Regions from separate parts of the Homo sapiens genome. Here region 1 is linked to region 2. The links are contacts of gene promoters, found by promoter capture Hi-C in blood cells and fetal thymus (Javierre and others, 2016). All regions are on one chromosome and are shown on one strand. Each heading gives the region's core, a stretch centred on a gene start or on the middle of the fragment in contact. The rest is flanking DNA. Distances are from core to core; before and after follow the strand shown. Region 1 overlaps SOAT1 (sterol O-acyltransferase 1). Region 2 holds the start of ABL2 (ABL proto-oncogene 2, non-receptor tyrosine kinase).

Region 1 (2,700 bases), core at 106-2,605, 85 kb after region 2:
ATATATATGTATATGTGTGTATATATATGTATATATATATTTTTTTTAGACAGAGTTTTGCTTTTGTTGCCCAGGCTGGAGTGCAATGGTGCTATCTCTGCTCACCGCAACCTCCGCCTCCCAGGTCCAAGCGATTCTCTTGCCTCACCCTCCCAGGTAGCTGGGATTATAGGCATGCGCCACCACGCCTGGCTAATTTTGTATTTTTAGTAGAGACGGGGTTTCCCCATGTTGGTCAGGCTGGTCTCGAACTCCTGACCTCCGGTGATCTGCCTGCCTCGGCCTCCCAAAGTACTGGGATTACAGGTGTGAGCCACCGTGCCTGGCCACACATTGTATGTTTATAGGACGACACTGATCAGGAATGTAACTGGTGGCCTAGAAAGTAAGTAGATAAGCTTCCCTTAGGCCAAAGCCTATTAAATACAATATTGTCAAGAAAAGAGAGCATGGCATTAAGAGGCATCTGACTGAGCTTCAGGCCTCAGAAAAATCCAACAAGTCTTCATGCTTCATTCCTTTGCCTGGAATAATGTTTCTAGCATTTGTTCACCATAATTTTTCTTTATTATTTGAGACTCAGTTCAAATATTGACTCCTGCAAAAGCCTCCTACACCCCTCATTCTCCCACAGCGCTCCTCTGTATTGTCCTTTTCCCTATTTGTAGTTTTCTCCTGAGATCCTGAAGGGAGGGTTTGCCCTGCATGTATTGGGTCCTCAGTGGGCTTTTACTTAATGCATGAGTATATAAATTGAGTAAATTAGTTACCAATTTAACAAGCCTGGTTATTTGTCTCTTTTCTTCTGTGTAGCTTTGGCGGTAGATTGACTATAGTAATAGAAGTGTACGATTGTTAGGGAGAACCCTGTGGAAGCAGCCTAGGTAGAAAGGCACAGCTCCCCAGGACTGCTGAGTGGGGCCTGATTGCACTCCACATTTCCGTTTTTGCTAAAGATATCACTATAATAGTATGGTACAACAATGGATCTCTCTTACTTGTTCCGAAGATTATGTAGGGTAAAGTACATTTTTGTTTTATTTTTTTGTAGAGAATGGGGGGGTCTCACTTTGTTGCTCAGGCTGGTCTCAAACTCCTGGCTTCAAGTGACCCTCCTGTCTCAGCCTCACAAAGTGCTGGGATGATAATAGGCGTGAGCCAGCACGCCTGGAGTCTGGTGTTTTTTTTAGGGTAGCAAAGCATGTCATAATTTTACAAAAATTTTCATCAAAACTGGTTAAAATAAGATTTTTGACATGTCAAGGAATAAATTTTAAACATTCCCATTAAGTATAGCAGGTTTTAAAAGAGATAGCATTTATTCATGAAGATAAGTATTGCAAGCCTGATTTTTTTAGAAATCAGAAATTTAAGGGAAAAAATGTTGAATAGTTTTCCTTATGGACTTATGCGGGGTTCTATTAAGTTTCAGATAGCAAATAACTGACTCCTAGTGTTAGCAGTTAGTGTGTTACTAGAGGGAGGCAAATGATTCCGAAATTACATCACCCTCAGTCCTGGCTTATCATTGTTTCAGGGTCAGTGTTTTAGAAATTGAGAAGCCTTGAGTTGAGTGCTTGTAAATAGTTCTTCAAATCATTGGATGTGGGTGGGGATGGTGGCTCATCCTTGTAATCCCAACAGTTTCAGAGGCCAAGGCATGAGGATTGCTGGAGGCCAGGAGTTCAAGACCAGCCTGGGCAACATAGCGAGGCTCTGCCTTTACAAAAAAATTTTTTTTAATTAGGTGGGTGTGGTGGCATGTGAGTGTGGTGGCATGTGCCTGTAGTCCTAGGTACTTGGGAGGCTGAGGCGGGAGGATCCCTTGAGCCTAGGAGTTCCAGGCCACAGTGAGCTATGATCATGCCATAGCCACTGCCCCCTAGCCTGAGCAACAGAGTGAGAACCTGTCTTAAAAAAAAAAAAGCAGTGGATATTAGCTTTTAGGCATTCTTTTGACTTTGACATCTAATTTTTAAATTTTAAATTGTAGAAAGTTAAGAATTTCTTTGTAATATTGTATGAAGAGGTATTTTGAAGGTAAAGGAAAATGAATTAGCATTTTAAAATATATTTTTCTTCCACTTACTTAACTTTGTCATTTTCAGTGGGGTCTTCAGAGACTCTGTGAACAAATCTTTTTTCTAACTTTCCAGTGGCTGCATCTCAAAGCCTGTTTGTAATGATGGCTGTCGTGTTATTTATGGATAGACAGATTCTTTTTGGAAGGGATGCACAAGTAGTGAGAATTAATCTTTTACAGTCTCCTTACCAATCCTCCTCTCCCATGGTAGCTGAATTAGTTGAAGGAAAGAAGCTTTTGTCTTCATTTTTTTATGAAATAGTTCATTTATGAAACCATGGTCTGGTCATAGAACTAAATTAAAAATATATTCTTTAACTTATTGAAAAATCAAATGGACATTTGTCTTACCCTTATATTTCTTAATCAGTTACCAATTTGTAAATATCTTAAATTAATCCTCTGCTCTCCATTCTCCTTGCCATTTACAACATCACTTTTTGTCCGGATTTATTGCATTTCTCTGTTATGTGGTCCTTTCCATCTTCCAATATCAGCTCAGTATTTTCCTGCATAAAATTCTTAGTTTCCTCAAAGCCCTTGTTATTATATGACCTAGCCTTCTTCCCAGTCATCAATTCTGCCATTATCGATAATTGAAGACATTCCACTGTCTC
Region 2 (2,700 bases), core at 67-2,566:
CAAAAACAAAACAAAAAAACAAGACAAAAAAAGTTTGGAGACAACTATTCTAAAAATACATTGACAATGAGATCAAAATAATAGGTTTCAGACTACAGGGAGCATACATACATGTATGTATGTATATGGGCACACGCACACACTACAAAGGAAAACTTGTTCATATCCTGACTGACGTCCTAACCATGCCCACCAACCTCTAGCCCTTGCCAGCAATCTCAGAATTGTGTGTCCTACTCTGAAGCATAGTACAGAGGCTTTGGCAAAGCCTTTCATTTCTAGTAAAAACGAAATACAAAACAAAATAAACCACAAAAGCATGTCAAAAGTGATAAGATGATGCTAACTTCATCTTCCCTACAGAAAAGCATTTGACACTGTCCACAGTTCACTATCCTGACACTGCTCATCACCTAACGTAAACACATACCTTGTACTCCACAATCTCCTGAAATTCAGTTCCCATTTCCCAATCCCTTAGGATACAACCCATTTCCCCTTCACTAACGACGGGTTTATGCTCCCACCTCTGGGACTGAGCTAATACTGCCCTTCATCCTTCCCTCTCCTGAAGCTGCCATTCACTTTCTTTCTGCAGCCGCATAGTCCCGTCCCAGAGTAGAGGACAGACCATCCAGGGTCCCCAAACCCACTTCTCTTTCCTTCTCCGCCCCCGGGATCTGCCAGCCAGGCTAGAGACGCGAGGGGGGAGGGGTGTGACTCGCCTCCCAGGACTGGACCAGATGGCAGCGGATTCCGCCCCCACTCTCAGGCACCTTCCACCCTCCGACCCCTCGGGCAGCCCGTCCGCCACCCACCCCGCCCCGACCCCACCCCCGGCCTCCCCCACGCTCTCATGCCGGCTCCCAGACACACTCACCATGCTGGGTGAAGATATTGAAGCCGGTCTCTGTGGTGCGCCCCGCCGGGTCCCGCCTGCGGCCGGAGGGCCTGGCTGCACTGCTGCCCCGGATCCCGCGGGGCTGAGGCTGCTGGAGCCCCGGAGCTTCCCCGACGCGGCCCACCTGCTGCCCCATCCCTGCTCTCGCGTACTCCCGCGCCCCCGCCGACCCCTGGTCACATTCCTCCTCGGCTCCGGCCTCGGGCTCCTGGCGCTGCTCCGGTCTCTCCCTCCCAGCCCAGGCCCTGGCCCTGAGTGGCTGGGCCACCGGCGGCTCCGCACCCGGCCTCCTCACGGCAGCCGCCGCGCTGCCTCCAGGCGACTCACAGATTCTGCTTTTCCCTCCTCCTGTCGCGGCTCCGCGCCCCCAACGCCGCCGCCGCCGCCGCCGCCACCGCCGCCGCCATCTTTAAACCACCGAGCGCTGGGAAAGCGTGGGACAGAGCGTCTCCCGCCCCCCGCCCCCCGCCCCCCGCCCGCCAGTCACCTCCGCCGCGGGGAAGGAGGGCTTCCCGGCTGCCGCCCCGCCCTGCCGCGCCGCGCCCCCCGTCCCCGCCCCCGCCTCCTCGCAGGGTGGGTCCCCCAGTGCCCACCTCATTTGCCGGCCACCGCTGCTTGAGGTCTTTCGTCCTCCGCGTCCTGTCGCCGCACCTCGGCGTCCCCCCCCTCAATCCGCCTCAGCCGACCCCCTCCCGCGTTCGGCTCCACACGCTACCGCCTTTGGGGTTGGTCGGTCTCCGGCCTTCCCCATCCCACCTCCACCTGTCAAATGAGTGAGTCGAGGGCTCAGTGCCACCGCGTGCGCAGCTCAGGTGCAGGCACAGGTGGGGCAGAAAAGCACAAGGCATTTATTTGGTCCTTGCCATCCAGTTAAGGAGCTCTAAAATACCCAGGGGGATCTCTTTTAAACACCCTTGTCAGCAGCAGGCCTCCAGTAAAAATTAAAATGGTATAAAATTTACAAGAAGAGAGTAAAATGCTACCTTATTTGATTTTAATTTTTGGAGATTATTTCATGATGTTAAATCGCACTGGCCTGGATTGTGTGCCTTCTATAGTCTCATTGGGGACGCAATTGTAGCCCCATTCCTCATATTATATTACCATGAATTCCTCTTGAACTCCTTTACCATCTCACCATATGTGAGTTTCTGTTTCCTTACAATGCCTGACAGTAAAGTTAATCTTCCCACTGGCATCCTTTATACACTGTGCACGTGGTCAGGTCTTCTTTTGATGACAAAGGAGAAAAAATATATATCTTTGACCCTGTTTCTGAGTCAGAACTTACTCATTTTAGCTTATGCAGTCTAAAGAGAGTGAATGAGGCAGAAAAGAAGCGTTTTATACATACACATATACTATATACAATTGACTCGCCATCCCCCTCTCCCACTGTGTTTACTTGCATCTTAATTCAATTTTTTTTAATTCTCAAATCTTGATCATTCTCCTGTTATTCTTTTGGCTTCCCAATTTGCTTTATAAAAAGTATCAGTTAATGGAGGTACTACACTGAAATTTTGCTTAAATTAGACAGGACGGGAGCCACTGCAAAGAAGGAACAAAACAACCACTGGAAATGTAGGGTTGGGAGAAGAGGTGGATGAAGCTCTCCTTTGCATATCTTTCCTGAACCAGGTTGACCTTAGATGAACCATCCACTGACGTAGATATTGCCTGTTGTAAAAGCACTATGAAATTATTCCATTGCCATCTAGGGTGTAGCCAGAAATAACTGAAATTAACTCCAAAATGGGAACGGAAACACTATGTGTAAACACTGGATAAAATATGAA

The links. Contacts are between HindIII fragments. The CHiCAGO score rates a contact against its expected background, and 5 or more counts as called.
Region 1: a contact is called between a fragment that was not itself captured here and the fragment with the promoter of ABL2 in region 2, in 1 of 17 cell types (activated CD4 T cells). The highest score is 5.1, in activated CD4 T cells.

The regions. Positions count from the first base shown.
Region 1 is chr1:179,313,556-179,316,255 of GRCh38, forward strand. All of the region lies in intron 2 of SOAT1 (sterol O-acyltransferase 1), which reads left to right. Among named protein-coding and RNA genes, the nearest start is that of SOAT1, 21 kb to the left of the region's middle. The HindIII fragment of the contact is 1,919 bases long and covers 397-2,315 here.
Region 2 is chr1:179,228,361-179,231,060 of GRCh38, forward strand. ABL2 (ABL proto-oncogene 2, non-receptor tyrosine kinase) reads right to left here and starts at 1,317. Exons shown (of 12, transcript NM_007314.4): 1 at 881-1,317. The coding sequence starts at 1,037. RefSeq lists an enhancer at 611-1,367 and a silencer at 823-1,232. The HindIII fragment of the contact is 8,969 bases long and covers 1-2,700 here.